Regions from separate parts of the Homo sapiens genome. Here all the other regions are linked to region 3. The links are contacts of gene promoters, found by promoter capture Hi-C in blood cells and fetal thymus (Javierre and others, 2016). All regions are on one chromosome and are shown on one strand. The core of a region is centred on a gene start or on the middle of the fragment in contact, and the rest is flanking DNA. Distances in the headings are between cores, read along the strand shown.

Evidence for each region. The method cuts DNA at HindIII sites, captures the fragments that hold promoters and counts their contacts. A CHiCAGO score of 5 or more calls a contact.
Region 1: a contact is called between a fragment that was not itself captured here and the fragment with the promoter of ZNF223 in region 3, in 1 of 17 cell types (fetal thymus). The highest score is 5.4, in fetal thymus.
Region 2: a contact is called between a fragment that was not itself captured here and the fragment with the promoter of ZNF223 in region 3, in 2 of 17 cell types (naive CD8 T cells and total CD8 T cells). The highest score is 5.6, in naive CD8 T cells.

What each region holds. Positions count from the first base shown.
Region 1 is chr19:44,338,330-44,342,603 of GRCh38, reverse strand. It overlaps ZNF112 (zinc finger protein 112), which reads left to right. Exons shown (of 4, transcript NM_013380.4): 2 at 2,062-2,188. The coding sequence starts at 2,065. Among named protein-coding and RNA genes, the nearest start is that of ZNF112, 16 kb to the left of the region's middle. The HindIII fragment of the contact is 713 bases long and covers 1,054-1,766 here.
Region 2 is chr19:44,318,657-44,322,553 of GRCh38, reverse strand. No RefSeq gene overlaps it. Among named protein-coding and RNA genes, the nearest start is that of ZNF235, 16 kb to the right of the region's middle. The HindIII fragment of the contact is 929 bases long and covers 1,279-2,207 here.
Region 3 is chr19:44,049,498-44,053,525 of GRCh38, reverse strand. It overlaps ZNF223 (zinc finger protein 223), which reads right to left and starts at 1,490. Exons shown (of 5, transcript NM_013361.6): 1 at 1,331-1,490. RefSeq lists enhancers at 1,264-1,503, 1,323-1,824 and a silencer at 1,544-1,603. The HindIII fragment of the contact is 18,414 bases long and covers 1-4,028 here.

The sequences.
Region 1 (4,274 bases), core at 161-2,660, 290 kb before region 3:
ACCTCGTGATCTACGTGCCTCAGCCTCCCAAAGTGCTGGGATTACAGGCGTGAGCCACCGTGCCCGGCCCTTTTCTTTAAATTATTTCCAACTCACAAGCTTTTACGTTCCTGAGGATTCTTGCAGTTTTACATTGCAGTATCAGTTTTCCTACAAATAATCTTGACTCAAAAACCAGTGTGAGAGAATTTTGATATTATTTGTCCATAATGTTCTAGAGACTCAAAACTAAAAATATTTTCTCCTAAGTGATGTCTCAGGTGGAATACATAAAATATGATTTTGTCTAACAAGATTATATTGAAGCTAAGGTTGGGGGAAAAATAGATGTTTTTGTACAAGAAGAGCTAGATTCTTATATAAGAAGAGCTAGATTCTTCTCAGTACCTATAGCTATGTGTTTATCTATATATGTTTGTATGTCTGTGTGTGTTTCATTATTCATGTATTAATTTTATTAGAGTAATACAGGTACTTAGTTTAAAGTTTTTAGTCATACCATAGGATATATAGGCACTTTGCATCTGTCACACTATTCATGGCCCCAGATGACTGTTGGAGGGGAACTGTAGAGTCGTTTGCACTGTTAAGAGGTTCATGTTCATACAGGAAGATAAGCATTGGGCCAACTCTAAAGCCTTTGCTTTCTGGGCCAAGAGTTTCAGGCATATCACTTGCGTGGAAAGACTTACAAAAAAGCAAAGCAAACCAAAGCAGAGTTCTGCATTCAGAGCTGAAGCTGTTATGCTCAGAACTGCAGCCAGAAGAAATATGGGACTGAACAGTTGTTCATTTAAAAATTTAAAATTACCCTACAGCAAAAAGTTACAAGACAGCAAAGTGGAATGAAAAATATTTACAATGTCCATGGAAGAAAAGACCTCGGTGTCCTCCAAATGAATTATTATTACAAAACAAGAAATCGAGATGAACAGCAAATGTGTGTAAAGAGAATGAACTTTATTACCAATAAGTTTGTGAGAATGTTTTTAATAAATGATTTTTACTTCCCAAATTTACTTGTGAGATTATGAAAGATTTTTTTAAAAAGCTTTCATATCCAGTGTTGACTATGATTTATACTTTCTTGGAAGAAGGCTAAGATGGAAGGCGAAAGTCTGTTTTGGGAAAACACCTGCCATTATGATTTCAGAACTTTAAAGGTCATTATTCTTCAGCATTGCCATTGTTACTTTTTGGTATTTATTTTGAGGAGATAATCAACAGAATTCCAGAGGTTAACGTCAATGCAAAAGATTGTTTTTGCAACATTGTTCGTATAGGTAACCTCAAACTAAGTGTGCATTAGTTGGATCAAATTATTATATTCTAGACCATTAGTTCTCTGAATTACTTTGCAGCCCAGAAATGGGATAGAAGATATAATGAAAATATTAATAATGTAGCTAACATTTGTTGGGTACTTACTGTGTGCCAGGTGCTGTTTTCCATGCTTTACATGTGGTCACTCATTTTATTACTAGGACTGTATGGTATAAGTTTCACCATACAAATGAGAAGATAGGAAACTTGTCCAAGATCATAGAGCTAGCATTGGGCAGAGCGCCCAGATCCAGACACAGGCAGTCAGGCTCCAGAGCTGTGCCCATCACTGCAGCAGTCTCCAGATGAGCACAGAGGATGAGCTACATATTTGAGCAGTAAGGATGACTGATACCCTGTAAATTTGACAAATTAAATAAGTGATGTGTGTGTGTGTAAATGAGGAGAAACAGGTAGCATCAGTCACTGTTAGAACTAAAGCTTTTGTGGAGCAAATGACATTATTATTACAATTTAAAATATTGGTAACCTAGGGTGCAACAGAGTTCCAGAGGCTTACTTATAAGTGCTAACAAAAGGAAGTAATTTCAAAGTGCAAGGATTTCTTTTCTTGCAGCCCTTTTGGTGAATGGTATTAGCATTACAGAAGGTAAACAGAAGAGAACTATGTAAATGTGACTCAAGTTGCCCAGACTCCAGAACAGCTTCCAGTCCTTTACACCTTCTCAGCACTGCCCTTCTTCTGTAAACTTAGTGTGCATGTGTTTGGCATTGTAGGAGATGGTGACATTCAAGGATGTTGCTGTGGTCTTCACTGAGGAGGAGCTGGGGCTGCTGGACTCTGTCCAGAGGAAGCTGTACCGAGATGTGATGCTGGAGAACTTCAGGAACCTGCTCTTAGTAGGTGAGGATAGGTGCCCTTAGTTACTCAATGGCAGCCTCCTGGGGTGTCTTTGTGTGCTCAATTGTTAGAAACTCTGAAGCCCCTGAAATTATTCTCTGAGATTAGGTGCCCGAGAGTCCTAATAATCCCCGTGCAACACAGACAAGATGTTTCTGATGGTTTTGTCCAGTCTATCCTTGGAATAGTAAATATGGTCCTGCTTCATTGATTTGCCATCAAACAGTTTAGTAAGTTGTTCCAGGTTAGTAAGTTTATTTTTCAGGGCACCAGTAACTGTTGATGAACTTGACTTTTTAGAGGGGTTTTTTTAAAAAAACATTATATTTGTAAATAACTTTAAACTCACAGAAAACTTACAAAAGGACAAGAACACCCATATAGATTCGCCAAGATTCTACCTGGATTCACCTCTAATAACATTTTACCCTATTTGCTCTATCATTTATGTTCATGTTCTTTCCCTCTCCATACATACTTATGTATGTATATGAAAAAATATATATAGTCATAATATCTTTTTCTGAACGACTTGAGGGTAAGTTAATATACCATGGCCGTTTTTCTCTAAATACTTCAGTGTATATACAGAGTTCAGGAGTCCCCAAGTTCACTCTCACCTCTGATACCAATTGCAAGATTAGGAGTCCCCAAGACCCAAGAGTACTGAGCCCCACACTCAGGCTCAATAATTCACTAGAAGGACTCACAGAACTCACTGAAAGCAGTTGTCTTCACAGTTAATGATTCATTACAGGGAAAGGAATCAGATTAAAGTCAGCCTAGGGAAGAGGCCCAGGAGGCAGAGTCCAGGAGCGTTCCAGATGTCAGCTTCCACTTGTCATCTTCCGTGGAGTTGTGGACAGCACTGACTTCCCAGCAGTGAAGTATGACAATACGTAAGGAGCATTGCCAGCCAGAGAGGCTCATTTGAGCCTTGGTGTCCAGAGTTTTTACTGGAGCTTAGTTACCTAGATATGATTGACCACCTGGGTGGCTGCTCTTAGATTCCAGTTTCTCCAGAGGTTAAGCTAATACCACATGGCTCAAAGCCCCTACTATAAATCACATTGTTTAACTATCTGGTGTGTGGCCCAAGGCTTCTGGGTAAACGAAAGACACTCTAATCGGGCAGTATATTCCAGGGACTTAGCGATTACCTTCTCCAGAAGCCAAAGGCAAAATCCAGATCTCTCTTTAAACAAAACTAACTCTTTCCTTTACTGCACAGTCTGTTTTATAAAAAGAGGAATATTCTCTTACCTGTTCTCAGGACAGATATAATGTTTTTATCTTATCTATCATTTATGCTGTGATTTTATCCATAAAGCCAATTTTATATATATATTTTTTCTTTTGAGACAGAGTCTCACTCTGTTGCCCAGGCTGGAGTGCAGTGGTGCAACCTCAGCTCACTGAATCCTCTGCCTCCCAGATTCAAGTGATTCTCGTGCCTCAGCCACCTGTAGCTGAGATTACAGGCAACTACCACCATGCCCAGCTAATTTTTATATTTTTATTAGAGATGAGGTTTCACCATGTTGGCCACACTGGTCTCAAACTCCTGGCCTCAGGTGATCCACCTGCCTCAGCCTCCCAAAGTGCTGGGATTACAGGCATGAGTCACCACGACCAGCCTAATTTTATTCTTTAAAGCATATTTTTCTCCCTCCAGAACAGGATCTAGAGTCTAGTATAGTTGTTCTGTCTCTTTAGCCTTCTTTAATTTAGAACATTTCCACAGCATTTCTTTCTCTTTTATGACAGTAACATTTTTGAAGAACGCTATCACCTCTTCCCTTATTTTTAATAGAACATTCCTAATGATTCCACAAAATTAGATTCAGATGATCCATGCAGCAGGAACACTATGTAGGTAGAGTGTGCACTTTTGAGGGAATCACATCTGGAGGCACGTGAAGTCATCTGTCCCTCAAAGGTGGTGTTAACTTTGATTACCCAGTCACGATGTTATGCAGTTTCCCCACTATATAATTACTGCTTTTTTCCCCATTTGTAATCATCGGGTAACACAAGTATTTTCCTGTAGATTAAGCACCTGCTGATGATCTTGCCTTATCTGGTCCTT
Region 2 (3,897 bases), core at 494-2,993, 270 kb before region 3:
CAAACGGGGAGCCATGGCATCCCACAAATGGACAAAGCAAGGAACCAGTGACTGATCCTAACAGGAAGACGATATGTGAACTCTCTGACCAAGACTTCATAAGAGCTGTTTTAAGGAAACTCAGTGATCTCCAAGATAACACAGAAAAGCAATTCAGAAATGTATCAGAGAACCTGAACAGAGAATAAAATAATTTTTTAAAATCAAACAGAAATCTTGGAACTGAGAAATATGTTTGCTGCACTGAAATATCCATTAGAGGCTCTCAACAGCAGAATGTATCAAGCAGAAGAAAGAATCAGTGAGCTCCAAGACAGGCTATTTGTGAATACACAGTCAGAAGAGAACAGAGAAAGAAAAAGAGCAAATATTGACTGAAAGAGATAGAAAATATCTCAAATGACCAAAACTAAGAATTACTGCTGTTCAGGAGGGAGTTGAGCAAGAGCAAGGAGTAGAAAGTATATTCAACAAAATAACAGAAAACTTTCCAAAATTTAAGAAAGAGATGAATATCCAGGTACAGGGAAATCATAGAACAGCAAACAGATTTGACCCAACTAAGACTACCCCAAAGCATATAATAAACTCTCATAGGTCAAGGAGAAAGAATTATAAAAGCAGCAAAAAAAAAAAAAAAAAAAAAAAAAAACAAGCAAATGACATATAAAGGAGCTCCAATTCATCTGGCAAAAGACTTCTTAACAGAAGCCATATAGGCCAGGAGGAAGTGCAGAGACATTTTCAAAGTGCTGAAATTAAAAAAAAAAAAAAACTATCATCCAAGAATACTGTATCTAGCAAAGTTATCCTTCAAATATGAAGGAGAGATAAAGTCTTTCCAAGATAAACAAAAGATGAGAGAATTTACCACAACAGACTTCTAAGAAAGGTTCAAGGGAGTTTCCAATGTGAAAGAAAAAGCTACTAATGTGCAAAATGAAAGCTTCTGAAACTGTAAAACCCAGTGGTAAAGTTAAGTACACAGACAAACCAAGAATAGTATTGTAATTGTGATGTGCAATCCACTCATAACTAGTATGTAGCCCAAAAGAAATCTATCAAAAAGAATAATAGCAAGAGCAATTTGTTAAGAAATAGGTAATATAAAAATATGTACATTGAGACAACCAAAAATCAAAAGGTGGGACGGATGGGAGTTAAGTGTAGAAGTGTTTCTTCTTTTCATTTTTCTTTGTTTCTATTACTTGTAATCTAAGATAAGTTGTCATCTCTTTAAAATAACCTGTTATATCTATAAAATGTATTTTGTAAGCTTTATGGTAAACACAATACAAAAACCTATAATAGATTCACTAAAAGTAAAAAGCAACAAATTAAAACATACTGTTAACCACAAAGGAAGACAGAAAAATGAAGACTCTTAAATATTTAAGCAAAAAAAGAAGACAGTAAGAAAGGAAGAAAGAAAGGGAGGAGTTACAAAACAACCAGAAAACAAGCAACAAATGGCAGTAGTAAGTCCTTACTAATCAATAATAACACTGAATGTAAATTGACTCATCCTCTGATTAAAAGACATAAAGTGGCTGAATGGATAGAGAAACAAGACCCAACTATATGCTGCCTGCAAGAAACCCACTTCACCTGTAAAGACACACATAGTCTAAAAGTGAAGGGGTGGAAAAAGACATAGCTTGCAACAGGCAACGAAAAAAGAGCAGGAGTAGCTATACTTGTATAAGATACAATATAGACTACAAATCAAAGACTGTAAAAAAGACAAATAAGGTCACTATAAAATGATTAATGGGTCAATTCAGCAAGATGATATAACCATTATAAATATCTATGCATTCAACACCAGAACTCCGAAGTTTATAAAGCAAACATTAATAGATCGAAAATAAGAGATATATGGCAAAATAATAATAGTAGGAGACTTTGACATCCCACTCTCAGCAATGGACAGATCATCCAGACAGAAAATCAACAAAGAAACATTGAAGTTAGGTCACACACTAGACCTAATAGACATAACTGACATTTACAGATCATTTCACCCAATTGCTGCAGAATAGATGTTCTTTTCATCAGTACATGGAACATTGTCCAGAATAGACTATATCTTAGGCCACAAAACAAATCTCAACAAATTAAAAAAAAAAGAGAGATTATATTCAGTATCTTTTCTGACCACAGTATAATTAAACTAGAAATCAATAACAAAAAGGACATTGGAAGCTTCACAAACAACATGGAAATTAAACAGCATGCTCCTGAATGACCAGTGAGGCAATGAAGAAATTAAGAAGGAAATTTAAACATTTTTTGAAACAAAGAAAATAGAAATACAACATGGCAAAATCTATGGGATACAGCCAAAGCAAAACTTAGAGGTTTATAGCAACAAACATATATCAAAAAGGTAAAAAGATTTCAAATAACAACCTAATGATGCACCTCAAGGAACTAAAAAAGTAAGAACAAACCAAATCCAAAATTAGTAGAAGAAAATAAATAAAGATCAGAGCAGAAATAAATAAAATTGATAATGAAAGAAGAATACAGAAGATAAATGAAAGAAAAGTTGGGATTTTAAAAAGATAAACAGAAATCATCAAACCTTTGGCTAAACTAACCAAGAAAGAAAGAAGATCCAAGTAAATAACATCAGAAATGAAAAAGGAGACTTAACAACTGAGACCACAAAAATAAGAATCATTAGAAATAAGAATCATTAGAGACTGTGATGAACAATGATACACTTTGGAAAACCTAGAAGTAATGAATAAATTCCTGGACACATGCAATCGACCACAGTTGAACTATGAAGAAATAGAAAACCTCGATAAACCAGTAACAAATAATGAAATTGAAGCCATAATAAAAAGTCGCCTATCAAGGAAAAACTCATGACCTAATGGTTTCACTGCTAAATTCTACCAAACATTTAGAGAACTAATACCAATTCTACTCAAACTCTTCACAAAAATTGAAGAGAAGGGAATAATTCCAAATTTATTCTATGGGGCCAACAGTATCCTGATACCAAAACCAGAAAAGGACACAATGGAAAAAAAAACTGCAGGACATTATCACTGGTGAACATAGATGCAAAAATTTTCAACAAAATACTAGCAAACTGAATTCAGCAACATATTAAAAAGATCATTCACCAACATATTAAAAAGATCATTCACCATGATCAAATGGGATTCATCCCAAGGATGCAAGGATGATCCAGTATATGCAAATTGATAAGTGTGATACGTCACACTAACAGAACCAAGAAGAAAAACCATCTGATTATTTTGATAGATGCTAAAAATAAACATTCAATATAATTTAACATCCCTTTATGATAAAAATCCTCATCAAACTGGGTGTAGAAGGAACATACCTCAGAATAATAAAAGTTATATATGACAAGCCCACAGCTAACATTGTGCTGACAGGGAAGAATTGAAGGCCTTTCCTCTAAGATCTTGAAAAAGACAAGGATGCCTAATCTCACCACCTTTATTCAATATAGATAGTACTGGAAATCCTGCATAGAACAATTAGGTGGGAGGAACACTGAGAAAACTTTAGCACTCCAGTTCCCAGAGAAATTAAAGGGCATCCAAATTGGAAAGGAAGAAGTCAAATTAGTCTTGTTGACAGATGACATGTTATTAAAAATGGAAAATACTAAAGACTATCAAAAACCATTAGAACTGATAAGAAAATTGAGTAATGTTGCAGGATACAAAATAAACATAAAAAATCAGTATTATTTATATATGCCAACAGTGAACAATCTGAAATCAAGAAAGCAATCCCATTTACAATAGCTACAAAGAATATACAATACCTAAGAGTGAGTTTAACCAAAGTAGTGAAAGAACTATCCAAGGAAAACTCTAAAACACTGATGAAAGAAATTGAAAAGGA
Region 3 (4,028 bases), core at 241-2,740:
CCGCCTTATGGCTGGAGGTGAGACATACTGGCGGCAATACTGGTCTTTACTGCACTGAGATGTTTGTGTAAAGTCACACATAAATCTGGCCTATGTGCACATCCAGGCACAACTCCTTTCCTTAAACTTATTTATGACAGAGTCCTTTGCTCACATGTTTTCCGGCTGACCCTCTCCCCACCATTACCCTATAGTCCTTCCACATCCCCCTCACCAAGATAGTAGAGATAGTGATCAATAAATACTGAGGGAACTCAGAGACCAGTGCCGGTACAGGTCCTCATTTGCTGAGCGCCGGTCCCCTGGGCCCACTTTTCTTCCTCTATACTTTGTGTCTGTGTCTTATTTCTTTTCTCAGTTTCTCATTTCCACCTTGTGAGAAACACCCACAGGTGTGGAGAGGCAGGCCCCCTTCAATATCAAACTCCAAATGAACAACTATGGAAATGTGACAGCTAAAGACAACGCATAAACTGGACTTTGAATAGGTGAAGGGTGGGGCAGAGGACAGTCATAAGGACTTTAAATGAAAAATTTAACAAATTCGTATATGGAACTGCAGATTAGATAACATGATGCTAGGTAATATGCTATCCAACACTATCTAGTAAGTACACTACAAATACTAGTATTCTTTTAACACATCTATCTGACATGTAATCGGTAACAGTATTATTTAACATAATATCCAATATTATCTACCATGTTATGTGAAACCCTATAACCAGCCCTTCCTAAATGCCTCTTACCAAGACACCCCACAATTACCGTGGTATGTGGGCTTCCTTGCTGCAGAAAGCTACCAATCAGCTGTCTCTGGTTACAGGTATGTTCCTGGTGGTATTTGGTTGATGGTCATCAACAAAGCAAACAGGAAAAATGTAAACACTTGGCAAATTTGGGTAAAGGGTATATGAGAATTTCTTATACTGTTTTTGCAATTTTTCTATAGCTTTGAAATGATATCAAACGTTTTAAAATATCAGGCAACAAGAGACCACTCACCAAGTGACAGGGACAACTTTAAGGCTTTCATTTGTATTATCTCTTTCAATTCGCAAAACAATTCTATTAGGATGACCCTATAAGCACCATTTTAAAGAACAGCAATGGGAAGTACAGAGACATTAACATTCCACATCACACTGCGAGAAAGAGTGTACACACTGCATACGTAGGGAGGCGGACTGAGCGAGGTCAAAGTCCTGGAAACCCTCAGAGCAGGGCACACAAGGCCACCCCAATCCCACCCCCCGGGAGGCGAGCAAAGCCCCCCGACGCCAGAAGGCTCCGCTGACGGGAACAATAAACACCCTCCCCGCCCTCGCACCTCTAAACCTCTGCTCTTCGCCAAGGCTTCTTTTCCCCTGAGACGATCATCGATCATCGGGTGGTTGCGAGCCTCAAGCAAAGGGGGTTCGTTCAAAATGTCCTGCAAGACGCAGAAATGGCTCAAACTACCCCGGTCATTAAAGCAGGAACCTCAGACTAGGAGACCGGAAGTGTCCTCTCTGCGCCAGAGTGTCTGGACTCCACTCCCCAGAATTCCCCGGACCCGCCCCCCTGAGCCAAAGGGCCCGGGACTCCGCAGAGTGTCTGGACTATCGTTCCCAGAATTCAACGGTTCACCTGCCAGAGCCAAAATACCCAGTGTTCCACGAGCCAGTGGACTACACTTCCCGTAAAATGGACTACTCTTCCCAGAATTCTCCGGAAACGCCTACCTGAGCTGAAGTATCAGGAATCCCGCAAGGTGTCTGGACTGCAGAGCCTCAGATGCAAAAGGAAAATGTCCATCACCTCACCCTTTAGGCTCAAGTGTTGCGACTACATGGTGCTCCTCGATTACACTTCCCGCAACACCCACGGGGAACGAATTTCATAGCCCCAGGTTCCTGGTGGGGAATGCAGACTGTTACCCTGACAGTTGTCCTTCCCAGAGTCCTCGAGCGAAAATATTGAATAGAAAGAATTTATGAAGTCTAAATGTCTCCCATGATTGACAGGAGTGTTCTTGGACAGGGAACAAGCGAGGAGATACAATATTCAAGGAGCTAGATAGAGTGACTGTTGAGCCGTCAGATGGCTGAAAGGAGGCTCAGGGTTTAAAGCAAGGATATCCAACTCCAGGGCCACAGACCTGTACCGGTCCACTGACTGTTAGGAACCGGGCGGCACAGCAGGAAGTGAGCGGCAGGTGAGGGAGCATTATGGCCTGAGCTCCACCTCCTGTGAGATCAGCCCAGCATTACATTCTCATAGGAGCGCGGATCCTATTGTGAACTGTGCGTGCGAAGGATCTAGGTCAGGCGCTCCTTATGAGAATCTAATGGCTGAGGTGGAACAGTTTCATCCCGAAACCATTCCCCAGTCCGTGGAAAAATTGTCTTCCACAAAACCGGTCCATGGTGCTAAAACGGTTGGGGACCACTGGTTTAAAGAATGAGCCAGGTAGAATGGGTTGGGAGGGGCAATGAGAAGCCAGGAAAGCATCAGCCCCTGTAACTGAAAAGTAGATCAGTGGCTTCCCGTTTGCAACGTCCAGTTAACAAGAGGGAGATCTGGTATAAAGAAAGTGATTTATTCTAGAGCTAGCGTAGGGGAAGTAGCACAGGTGTTGTCTTTAAGTGCACGGCTTGGCTTTTAGAGCAGAAAGCAGGCACTTTTAAAAGGTAGGGGAGGAAGAGGGAAGGGGTCTGTGTGCTGGCTTGGTGCCTTATCTATTAGGCAGTTGAGCTGGCTTTTTCATGGGCAGAAATAAGTTGTAACCAGAAGGGAGAGAGTAGCAGGCACGCTTTCAACTGTTGTCTCTTCAGGCAACCTCCTGGTGAGTGAGAGTTCAGAGGCCAGCATGCTTTAGTTTGTAAATTGACTGTTAATTCTGGAGGAGAGTTCTGGCTTGGAGCACACAGTTAGATGAACTTTCCCTGTAGGAAGTGTCTGGTGAAGGGGAGGTAAAAGTCTATATTTGCATTTTTAAAGGGCTACATAGGAAGTGGGGAACTAAGGGAATGAGAAAAGAGAGAGAAATAAATAAGCTGTCTCTTAGAAAAATGGTGGTTCTCAGTTACAGCCCTAGTCCAGATGCTGTGGTACCACTGGTTTGACAGGAAAAACAAAATTCCAGCCACCAATGGAGAAGCTGTGTCCTCATGGAAAAGCTACATTTAACATTCTCATGGTAGTAATATTTCTACTTTAGATGTAGAAACGCTAAATTTCAGAGAAGTTAGTGAATTGCTAAGTATCTTAAAGCAAGTATAACTGTTGAAGAGCTTGGCATTGGTATCAATCTGACACCCAATGTCTGATTCAATGCCATAAAACTGGAGAAGATTCTATAGGTGACGGAGCATGATTTATTATTAAGAGTTTCTTCCTTTCCATTTCTTGGTTAAAATATCTTCATTATAGGAAACAATTTGAAAACTGGCATATGTTAGTTGAAAGACATTAATAATAGTATAAAGCTAAATCAGGAAACAATTCATCTAAAATTCTCTTTTGAAGATAAACCATATTTTTTGTCCTCCCAAATAAACATACATTGACCTGTCGACCTATATTTTTCTTTTTAAAAAGAGTCTAATGTCCTGTATCCATTTTCCTAAAGTAAAAAAAAATAAAAAAAAATTAAAAAAAGACTGTTCACAATTTTTTTTTGATACAGAGTCTTGCTGTTTTGCCCAGGCCAGAGTGCAGTGCGCGATCTCGGCTCACTGCAACCTCTGCTTCCTGGGTTCAAGTGATTCTCCTGCCTCAGCCTCCCAAGTAGCTGGGACTACAGGCATGTGCCACTACGCCTGGCTAATTTTTTGTATTTTTAGTAGAGATGGGGGTTTCACTGTGTTAGCCAGGATGGTCTCAATCTCCTGACCTCGTGATCTGCCCACCTTGGCCTCCCAAAGTGCTGGGATTACAGGTGTGAGCCACTGCACCTGGCTGACGTTTCACAGTTTGGTTTGGACAAAAATTAAGGTGACTGAGCAACCACATAGTGCCAAACAAATTTTCAATGCCCCCTTGAA